4 separate regions of the Homo sapiens genome follow, and all the other regions are linked to region 2. Evidence: promoter capture Hi-C in 16 types of primary human blood cells and fetal thymus (Javierre and others, 2016). All regions are on one chromosome and are shown on one strand. The core of a region is centred on a gene start or on the middle of the fragment in contact, and the rest is flanking DNA. Distances in the headings are between cores, read along the strand shown.

Region 1 (2,700 bases), core at 101-2,600, 210 kb before region 2:
GGTATCGTATCAATTCTTCACAGGTCATCCATTTTGGAGTATATTTAGAAACTATATTCATTATGATTTTTTTTATTTAGAATATTCAGAAACATCTGCTGAGAGCAAATTCTTTAGACTTGGACTTTAAAATAAACCCTCTAACATTCTGTGAGCCAAAGGCCATCTTGCAAGGGTTTAGTGGAATTTTTTTTTTTTTTTGGAGACAAAGTCTCGCTCTGTCACCCAGTCTGGAGGGCAGTGGCACGATCTTGGCTCACTGCAACCTCCACCTCCTGGGTTCAAGCGATTCTTCTGCCTCCCAAGTAGCTGGGACTACGGGTGCCCACCACCATGCCCAGCTAATTTTTGTATTTTTAGTAGAGACAGGGTTTCACCATGTTGGCCAGACTGGTCTCAAACTCCTGACCTCAAGTGATCTGCCCACCTCGCCCTCCCAAAGTGCAGGGATTACAGGCATGAGCCACCGCGCCTGGCCTAGTGGGATCTTTCTGATGCTTCAAAGACTCGCAGGTACCTAACTACTCACTCTAGGGCTGGAAAGGGCAGCTGCTCTGCCCAGGAAGGGACACAGCTTCTCTGCTGGAGGGAAAGCAGCAGAATCACCAGTGCCCCTGAACTCAGCACACCAGGAACCTCAGTGCTGATTTCTGCACCCAGAGTGGGAAGCTTGTTCAAAAGTGTTTTTTTGGCTACGTGATTATTTGTGGTGATATTTTTACTTACAAAGCAAATTCAATAAGCCTTTTAGAAAGTTTTTTGTACCATTTAAAGTGTGTTTCCAGAGCATTCAGGCGTATGAAGAGGATGTATCCTATATCTTGTTAACTTGCTCTGTTGCTTCTTGCTTTAGATAAGTTTCTTTTTCTTTTTTTTTTTTTTTTGAGGCAGAGTCTTGCTCTGTCACCCAGGCTGGCGTGCAGTGCTCACTGCAACCGCCACCTCCTGGGTTCAAGCGATTTTCCTGCCTCAGCCTCCCGAGTAGCTGGGATTACAGGCATGCACCACCACGCCCGGCTAATTTTTTAATTTTTATTAGAGATGGGGTTTCACCATGTTGGTCAGGCTAGTCTCACACTCTTGACCTCATGATCTGCCTACCTCAGCCTCCCAGAGTGCTGGGATTACAGGCATGAGCCACCACGCCCAGCCTAGATAAATTTCTTAAATCCTCTCTAACTGGTTTTGTTATCTTTAAAACTATTTTCAACCCAATCAGGTTAGAAACAAAAATATTTTGATCTAGTATAGGTGAAGTTGTGAAGATGGATTACGGAAGATATTGAAAGAATTGATATTTTTATTGGGCACTATCAACTCATGAGGTCAGTATTGCTCCAGGGATTGTGTTTTAAGTCCATGTGATTTTTGTCACCCCTCAGCCCTGCATCTGGCCTGTGCAGGTCAGCACTTGGCCTGTGCCAAGTTTCTCCTGCAGTCGGGACTGAAGGATTCTGAAGACATCACGGGCACCCTGGCTCAGCAGCTCCCAAGGAGAGCAGATGTCCTTCAGGGCTCTGGCCATAGCGCAATGACATAAGGATGTTTCCAAGAGGAGGCAATAAAGTGCATGGTAATTCATATCCTGCTTCTTAAGTCAGTCACAGATTCAGCGAAACCAGTTGGAAGCCAGTTTTCCATCTCCTCCACTTCCTCCCTTCCCTCATCCTGCATGTTCCACTCCTGCTGAGGAGTTCCCAGTGATCAGGGGGCTGAGTTCCCAGCTCCATGACAGGCACATTATGGAGTCCCAAGCACAGTCATAATCTTCCCGTAGTCCATATTTCACTCTTTGTACTCTTAAAGTAGAATAGATAACGTTTGCGCGATCAGGCTGTGGGATCCTTAGAGAAGCATGTACCATGCATGAATATAATATAGCATACACACTTTCACAAACATATGAAATATCTTATAGTAACTGCTGCATGGTAAGGCTGTGATAATAATAACAAAAATATCACATACGTTGCTATTAGCTTGAGCTATAAAATGCAGTTGGCCCATTTAATTTCTTCCTTCATAAGCTTTTACTTGGCCATTACAATGGTTCACTTTTGGTTTCGTAGCCAAGAAGGACATACTTATAATCTGTTTACACAGGCATTTACAAGAAATTAATAAAAACTTTTATATATTCTAAGCACTGCTAGTTAAGCTATCAAGTTTTAATCTTGAGGGTTTTTGTTTGTTTTAATAGATAAATTCAGTATTGACCCCCTTCAAGTAATAAATACATGTAAAAAATGTAACTAAGGACCGGGCATGGTGGCCCGTGCCTGTAATCCCAGCACTTTGGGAGGCTGAGGCAGACAGATCACTTGAGGCCGGGAGTTCAAGACCAGCCTGGCCAACATGATAAAACCTCATCTCTACTAAAAATACAAAAATTAGCCAGCTGTGCTGGTGCATGCCTGTAGTCCCAGCTACCAGTGAGGCTGAGGCCCGAGAATTGCCTGAACCCAGGAGGCAGAGGTTGCAGTGAGCTGAGATAGCGCCACTGCACTCCAGCCTGGGCGACAGAGCATGACTCCGTCTCAAAAAAAAAAAGAAAAAAAGAAAATGTAACTAAGATATTTACAAAACTTCTGTTAACCTGAGTTTAAGAATGGGGTTTTGTCTTTAAAACCCATTTTTCTGGCCTGTCCCATCCACCCACGGAAGCCTGTGACTTAAGGAATGAAACACTTGACATTTAGC
Region 2 (2,700 bases), core at 1-2,500:
CAGTGCAAATGGCTTGAAATTCCATTCCCAGGCCTGGGGCTCCACATTTCCAGGGGCTCTGCTTTCCAAAAGATATGGTTCAATGTCCCCTAGGTATAGTGCCTTCGGTCTGGACTGCAGATGGAGACCTGGGTCATCCCAGAAGCTTTGTAGTGTGAGAGATCAAACTGGCTGCTCTGCCAGGCCTCACCTATTTCCAGACTGGATGATTCCTGATACTTTTACTTTTGAGCCCAAACTAACTTCTGCATGGAGGTTCAGTACAGGTCAGGTGAGTGACGAATCTCCTGACAGGGCTACAGTGAACTTTCACAAGGTTAAACCTTCTAAACTTGGGAAGCTGCTTTGCAAAAATAAATAAATAAAATAAAAATCCCTTACTCAATTGTTGACTGGGTATTATTCCGGAAACAGGAAACAGGTTTTTCATTTCTGCCAGGTTGTGCCCCAGCTTCCATTTGCTAAGCAGCTTAGGGGAACATTGGATTAAAAACCACCCGTAAAGAAAAGGCATTAAGAAATTGATTTGAACGATTTGAAATTATTATCTTGAAAGATCAAAGAAACAGTGATTATGAACACCGGCTCTGGTGGGAAGCGGTTCTTGAAAGTTAAAGCATGGGGGAACTCGAGTACTCTGGAGCATCATCAGCATCTGTACAATGCAAGTGAACTCTGGAAGCTAGACGCATGCTTTGCACGTGGACACAGACACATGCTTGCACAGGACACATTTGCAATACATACATGTTTATACATGGACACATGTTTTGCACACGCTTGCACAGGACACGCTTGCACAGGACACATGCACAGGATGCATGTTTTGTACAGGACACATGTTTTGCACATGGAAACACATATCCATGCTTTGCAAAGGGACACAGGGAAGCATGCTTACAATGGATACAAGTTTACACACGGACGCATGTTTTGCACAGGACATATGCACAGGATGCATGTTTTGCACACGGACACACACGTTTACATAGGACAAGTGCACAGGACACGTTTTGCACCGGACGTATTCTGTGCACGGGACGCACGGTTTGCAGATGCAAGCACACACACTCCTCGGCGCGACGGGCGAAGCGGGGTGGGCAGCGACAGCGGAGTCCGGACCCAGGGACAGCGCCTCCGGGAACCTCGCCAAGGCGGCGGGAACTACAACTCCCGGCTCGGTCGCCTCGGGACGACGCGCGGCCCAGCGCAGACTGGCCCCGCCCAGCGGCCCCGCGCGGCCCGGCCCAGGTCCCGGCGCCCAGAGTCGCCGCGCGGCCGCCGGTGAGCCGCATGGAGCCCCGGGCGGCGGACGGCTGCTTCCTGGGCGACGTGGGTACGTGCGGGCGCCGCGGAGGTCAGAGCGAGGCAGCGGCGCCGGCTCCTGAGGCCGGCCGCGTATCCGATGGCCTGCGCCGGGGAGGTGGTGGCGCGCCCCGCGCTGGCTCCGTGGGCGGGGGCGTTTGGCGGGGTGGGCCGCGGTGAAAGCAGGGTCCCAGTGGTGCCGCGCATCCCAGACGGGCTCTCATGTCTGGTGCCTTGTCCCAGGCCAGCGCACTGCGGGGTTGCAGTCCGTGCGGCTCGCCAGGTGTGGGGTTTCGCAACCGCAAACCCACCGAGCGCCGCGCGCCCTGGGGAAGGTGCGGGACGCGTGCGGGGCCGTTGCCCAGTGGCGGGGGAGAGCCTGGGAAACGCCCACGGTGCTCCCTCTCGGGGAAGCCAGGCGCGAGCCCACGGTAAGAGCTAAACCCCCCTCCACTGGCGCGGGTGAGGCCGTGGCGCAGTGTCCGAGCATCCTGCAGAGGCGTCCGCGTGACCCCGACTCCGCTCCAGTGAAGGTGGCCTTGGGGCACCCCGGCACACTCCGAAAAGTGCCATCCCAGTTCGCAGCCTACTTTACCAAAATCCGAGCAGCCCAAGAATGAAATGGATTTGAGGGAAGGACACTCTTTGGGGAAGCAAATTTTTTTGCTGCCTATGAAGCAATAATATGGTCACTGAAATGAGCGACGGAAGCACTATGAAAGCCTAAAAAGAAAAAAAAAATCTAAAGCATATTCATCCTGGTAAAAACAGTAGTGCACCTAAGAGGGAAAAGTCTTAAGGGTAAATTTAGCTGAAGAGGAAGTTGCAGTCATAGCAAGGCAAAGATATTTTAATTGACTTTGCAAAATAACCACCTTTGACATGATCAAAGGTATCTAATAAGCATGTGTTTTTACTTGGCATTCCAGTCCAGGCAAGCACAAGACTTTGACCCTGACACTGTGATCTGCATTTGATTAGCTTAATTGAGTAAGCAGTGAATAGCTAACGGCAGAAGCTTATTTAAACACATATTTTAATATTTCTGTTCATGGCATCACTTCTGAGCATGTCTTCTGCATCGTTTGTTATGGAATGCATCTGTAGAAGAAAGGCACATTTTAAACTAATGAATCCGCAACTTTTGAGGTTCACTGGTATTTTTGACATTGTCATTTTTTATTTAATATATTTCTCCCCAAATAAGTTCTGCTGATGTTTTTTATTCCCAGTGTAATGAATAAGCTGAATGTGTTGGATCCAAAACAATACTGCCATTCCAGCAGCACCAGAGGCGAACCGTAGGAGCTTTAGACAATTTTAACATTCTGACCTCAAATTCTGGATGTGTGGTGTACCGCGACCAAAACATTTAGGTTTTGGGCTGTTGCGCAG
Region 3 (2,700 bases), core at 49-2,548, 230 kb before region 2:
TCACCCGCAAGGTGACGGTATGAAGTGGTGGGGCTCTGGGCCAGGCACAGTGGCTCATGCCTGTAATCCCAGCACTTTGAGAGGCCAAGGTGGGTGGATCACTTGAGGTCTAGAGTTCAAGACCAGCCTGGCAACATAGTGAAACCCCATCTCTACTAAAAATATAAAAATTAGCCAGGTGTGGTGGCGGGCACCTGTAACCCCAGCTACTCAGGAGGCTGAGGCCCAAGAATCACTTGAACCCGGGAGGTGGAGGTTGCTGTGAGCCAAGATTGTGCCACTGCACTCCAGCCTGGACAATGGAGAGAGATTGTGTCTCAAAAGAAAAAAAAAAAATGCGGTTCTAGGAAGTGATAAGGTCACAAGGGTGGAGTCCCCACAAATGGGATTAGTGCCCTTATAAGAGAGGTCTCAGAGAGCTCCCTTACTCCTGCCACCATGTGAGGACACAAAGAGAAGGTGCCGTCTATGAACCAGGAAGCGGCCCTCACCAGACACCAAATCTGCTGGCACCTCGATCTTAGACTTCCAGCCTCCAGATCTGTGAGTGAGAGAGACTTCTGCTTATAAGCGGCCCAGTTATGGTATTTTGTTATACCAGCCCAAATGGACTGAGGCAGCACACGTTCTGTGAATACTGAGTGGGTCAAGAAGGATGAGGAGCAGGGAGAAGAATTCGGCTGGGAGGTCCAGGAGCCTACACTCTAATCCCTAGGAATATACTACAGAACTGCTCCCACAGGGAGACCTCCCTGGTAGCTCACAACAGACTGATGACAGAACATCAAAAATGTTCAGTCCCAAAGGGAACTGCTTTGGAAAAGGTAATATGAACAGGATAGATTTTTATTTATGTATTTATCTCAGAAAATACGTCTGAATCCAAAATGCTTGTTGCGAAGATTAAGTGTTTGCAGAAATCTAACAAAGACACAGGAGTAACAGAAAGTGCTAATGGGAGTGTTGGAACACTGTGTTCTGCTTCAAGGGAGTCCCGGTATATTCCAATATGTTCTGGCATGAAGCCACCCTGGGAGGAACTGAGGTTCGGTACCGGGGGAGGGGCGCTTAGACTGGTGATCTGGCCTCTGTGCACTAAGATAAGTAACCTATATAACTGGAATGGCGTTACCAGCCATAGTTTGGCTGGCGGGAGAGCTGGTACTTTTATTGGATTTTTATTAACACTTTTATTGGATTCCCCACCCCTTGGACTTATTGGATATATGTATCAAAAATAACTTTTCTAACGTCAGCTGGAGGTCAGGAAAACTAACCTGTATCTCTGGTCTCAGAGAGAGGTGCTGTGATGCTCTGAACTGGGAGCCAGGAGCCCTGTGTCCACCTCCTCCGCAGGAGCCCTGTGTCCACCTCCTCTGCAATTACACGCTTTACACTTAATGTTCCCTTAAAGCCCCTCCGAGGCTGTGGGGTGCAGGAGAAGACCCACACTTGGCAGGTATATTCATCGCCAAAGCCTTGCTTATGAAAACGAGGATTATAATAACCTGCCATGCTGAATTCAGAGAATGAGACAATATATATGTAAGTACTCAAGCCACCCACATTGAGGGTGACAACACCTATCTCTAAATCTATGTCAACACCTAGCAACAGAAACGTCAGAAGAAATATGTGACTACCACACCAATCTGAGGGTCTCCTAAGGCACATCAGTTTTAATAGCATTAATGTTCTTGCTAAATGGTTAAAAATAAAACCAAAACACTACACTAGAATTCTAATCACCCTTCTATTCTTATTAATATACCTTTTTAAAAAGCAGTTCAAAAATAACTTTATCAAAATAAGAATGCTCAAATGCTACTTCTTCCATAAAAATCCTCCTTCCCTGAGTCACGCAAAGCTCATGGTATGCCTCCCTCTCTACACAGCAAGTGCACTTTACACCTCCTGTAAAGGGCATTTACTGTTAGAAGCTGCTTGTGATTCTTTAGGGAATGAAATTATCTGTGGTGAATGACCACAGATAAAGGGAAGCTGTGTCTAAACTAGGGGTTCTTGTGGGTGCAGAGAGATTAGAATCACTTACGGGGCTTTGCAAACTCTACAAGGCCCCCAGAGTTGTTGAAATTGGTCTCCTACACACCAAATTCGGCATCTGTGCTCCCACCCTTGGACACTCTCTTCCACAATAACCAACAGAAATGTGTTAGAGCCCTCAGGTGTCAGGGTAGAAAAACCAGAATGTACACAAACCATTTTGTCAAATGAATATTCCCTAGGCTTAAGTAAGCTCATTCCCACACTGCCTTTTCTGTGACGGCTTTCTAACAGTGTGACTTCTCTGTCCTCCACCCCAGGGGTCCCCATTCCAGGACCCACCTCTCTTTGCTAACCCTCAGCTTTTAGCCCTACCCCAGCAATTCCTGGCCTTTGCTGACTTTGAAGTGGTCAGATCTGGAGTTTAGCCCTCCACCACCCCTCAAATCTCTTCACCTTGATGACAGTCTATCCCCTCCCAGCCCACTCTGACCCACTCCATGCCCTGGTGAGGTCCCCCGATGGAGATGAGACCCTTATCAGTCTCCCCTGAACGAGTCCTTACAAGAACTCTGCTACGGGGAACTAAAAGGAAGGGACCACGTCTATCCCCTCATTCCTCAAAGTGCACAAGGGGGAAACAAGAGACACTCCTGCAGTCGCAGAGTGAGAACTGCGTGTCTGCCACTCCTCCCC
Region 4 (2,700 bases), core at 179-2,678, 230 kb after region 2:
TAAATTAGAGCTTAGGAATAATCATTACTTTTTTTGGTCTAGGCATTATTATCTACTTTTACCTGGAACAATAACAAGCAATTGGAAATTAGACTAGGGAAGCCATACTACAGGCAAAGAGAAAACAAAATCTAAGCTCTCTGCTGCCCTCTACACGAGATATTGTGAAATGCAATTGTCAACCTGTTTTTCAACTTTGTAATTATATTTGTAACGACATTACATAGATGACTACATAAACAATCTCTTAATTTGTGGAAAAATATGACCAGTAAAATCTGTATTTTCAGTCTTTGTACAGCCTTCATGTCTTATATTACTAAATTAAACATATATTTTAAAATGATACAAGTATATGAAAAAGATTCCACAATTCACAAGAAATATTTTAAGAACTTTTTCTAAATATAAGAAAACTACATTCCATTTTAAAACTCTAGAATTCAAGATTACAAGCATATACTCTGTATCTCACTAAAAATAGGTTAGTTAAAAATAAAATTTTAAATCTTACTAAAAAGGAAGTATTAATTGAAAAGTGGAACTTTTGAAAAACCATAGTTCCAAAATATCTAGTAATAACTTAAAAACAAAAAGAGTTACATTTGAACTGGATAAGTACGAAAGAAATTAGTAATGAAGTTATATGTGATTTGAATCTCCAAGTTTAGTACTAAGAATTTGGTTTGGGGAAAAAACATCAGTTTAGACCAATTAAGTATTATTAGACACACTTTAAATAAAATAGTCTCATAGGCTAATAAGTTTGGTATTGTCAAAACAATGGTTCTTTTGTGCGATGACAACACAAATAGCCAATCAAATGGGGTATCAGCACTGTTAGTGGTGACTTTTTATCTCAGGTAACGAATAACTTCCAGTATAACGTAAGACCACTTAGTCTTCTGTAACAAGCTGTTGAATGGGATTCCTCCCATTTTTCCCTGAACTTCAGCTTAAGGCCCCAAACTAAAGACAAAAGGATATTGTGTCTTGTGCCCAGCCTCCTGTTTTCTCAGCCCAATTTGACATTGCCATAGCAACTGGCTCCCCACAGGAGTGACCCCACAGTCCCTTGCCTCAGCTGCACTGTGTATCTCTTGCCTTCCACCCTGGGCTTCTTGGATGCTGCTGTGTGGCACATGCACATGTGTAGCCACGGGTGTGTGGGATGGACACCCGAAAGGCCACTTGTTGACTAACGGAGCACAGAAGCTGCAGGATAAAAGCTCCCCTCTTCAGTCCGTTGAGAGGAGAAGTCTGTGGTGTGTTTTACACAGCTCTTCAGAGGGTTCCAGAGAGATCTACCCCACTGCCCACAGTAGTGACAGCTTAATTAGACACTGCACGGGCCTCCTCTCTTTCACTTCTCCAGCTTGTTCCCTGGGATCATACCTCAAGAAAGACACCTGTCAATGAGTCCTCGTTTTAGGCTCTGATTTCTGGAGGGAGAACCCAGGCTAAAATATGGACACTGAGATTGGTCCTAGAGATCAGAAACACAGGATGGGACTCTGAAACAGACTCACTCACTAGTAAAATGGTGATAAGGACTACAGGTATGAATAGGGATGAGACACAGAGTAGTGAGGCAATGCCTTACATAGTAGTGGTGGCAAATGAACAAGAGAGGGGCAGTGGTAATTGTAATGATTGTAGTGTTTACTGGCTTTGGCTAATTGCTTTAAAAGATTTGAAAAAGCAGCTGACAGAACTTTCATAATGTTCTCAGCACCATGGTGGGAATAGCTAAGTGGGAGTCCCTGAAATTTCACCCCTTACACCTGGGCCAAGATGGTAAGTCAGAAGCAGTATTGCACACCAGGAGAAAATGCAGAGATCAGCCATCAGAGTTACGGACTGCACAAGTGATAGTCTCCACTAGATCCTCATTCTGTTTATCTGAGTGCCTCTTACAATAATGAGGTGGACTGTGGTAAATGACAGTGGACCACTGTAAACTTAAGTGGTAGTTCCAACCTCAACTGTTGTGCAAGATGTAGAGTCTACTGGAGCAGACCAACAAATCATCTAGCATTTGTTACATGGTTATGGTTGTGGTTACTGATCTGGCCTATGTGTTCTTTTCAATCCTCATTAGTAAGAAGGGTCAAAAGTAGTTTGCTTTTAGGTGGGAAGGACAGCAGCCTGTGATTGCTCACGTCCTGAAGCTGTTCACTTTGTTTTCTGTCACAAAGTCGGCAAGGACCGGATATTTCACAGAACATCATACAGGCCCACTGTATTAATAACATTATACCAAAAAGACCTGGTGAATAGGAAGTGGAAAGTATTTTGGATATCCCAGTAAATCAAACGCATGCCACAAAAATTCAGAGGTTGCCATGTTGGAAAAGTTTTAATAGATCCAACGGCCTGAGGCTTTCTGGGATCTCCCCGCTACAGGAAAGGACAGGTGTTGCACCTTGCATCTTCTAGGCACAGTGCTAGCAGGACTCTTCATCTTTTGGAGGCAGTATCTGCTATATTTGGGAATGTTGCTGTGATAGTTTTGAGTAGGTCCCAGAGCAACAGAGGTCTCTGTAGCAGGTCCTCCAGGCTGTGGTGCAAACTGCCCTGCTGTTCAGGCCATGTGACCTGGTATATCACATCAAGGTTGGGTATTTATGGTAGACAAAGATGCTGTGTGATGCTCTGGCAAGGCCAGGAAGAGAACTGCAATGCAGAGCCTTAGGGTTC

What was found. Contacts are between HindIII fragments. The CHiCAGO score rates a contact against its expected background, and 5 or more counts as called.
Region 1: a contact is called between a fragment that was not itself captured here and the fragment with the promoter of ASB13 in region 2, in 5 of 17 cell types (total CD8 T cells, megakaryocytes, endothelial precursors and 2 more). The highest score is 6.2, in total CD8 T cells.
Region 3: a contact is called between a fragment that was not itself captured here and the fragment with the promoter of ASB13 in region 2, in 1 of 17 cell types (total B cells). The highest score is 6.1, in total B cells.
Region 4: a fragment that was not itself captured here is called in contact with the fragment with the promoter of ASB13 in region 2 in 5 of 17 cell types (megakaryocytes, fetal thymus, naive B cells and 2 more); the score reaches 7.4 in megakaryocytes.

Annotation. Positions count from the first base shown.
Region 1 is chr10:5,876,970-5,879,669 of GRCh38, reverse strand. ANKRD16 (ankyrin repeat domain 16) reads left to right here. Exons shown (of 8, transcript NM_019046.3): 7 at 1,383-1,573. The coding sequence ends at 1,540. Among named protein-coding and RNA genes, the nearest start is that of ANKRD16, 12 kb to the left of the region's middle. The HindIII fragment of the contact is 1,358 bases long and covers 672-2,029 here.
Region 2 is chr10:5,665,145-5,667,844 of GRCh38, reverse strand. ASB13 (ankyrin repeat and SOCS box containing 13) reads left to right here and starts at 1,250. Exons shown (of 6, transcript NM_024701.4): 1 at 1,250-1,336. The coding sequence starts at 1,294. RefSeq lists silencers at 1,247-1,316, 1,617-1,666. The HindIII fragment of the contact is 2,178 bases long and covers 148-2,325 here.
Region 3 is chr10:5,896,048-5,898,747 of GRCh38, reverse strand. All of the region lies in intron 1 of FBH1 (F-box DNA helicase 1), which reads right to left. Among named protein-coding and RNA genes, the nearest start is that of FBH1, 7.2 kb to the right of the region's middle. The HindIII fragment of the contact is 3,818 bases long and covers 1-2,700 here.
Region 4 is chr10:5,439,704-5,442,403 of GRCh38, reverse strand. All of the region lies in intron 3 of NET1 (neuroepithelial cell transforming 1), which reads right to left. Among named protein-coding and RNA genes, the nearest start is that of NET1, 28 kb to the right of the region's middle. RefSeq lists an enhancer at 1-150. The HindIII fragment of the contact is 7,838 bases long and covers 1-2,700 here.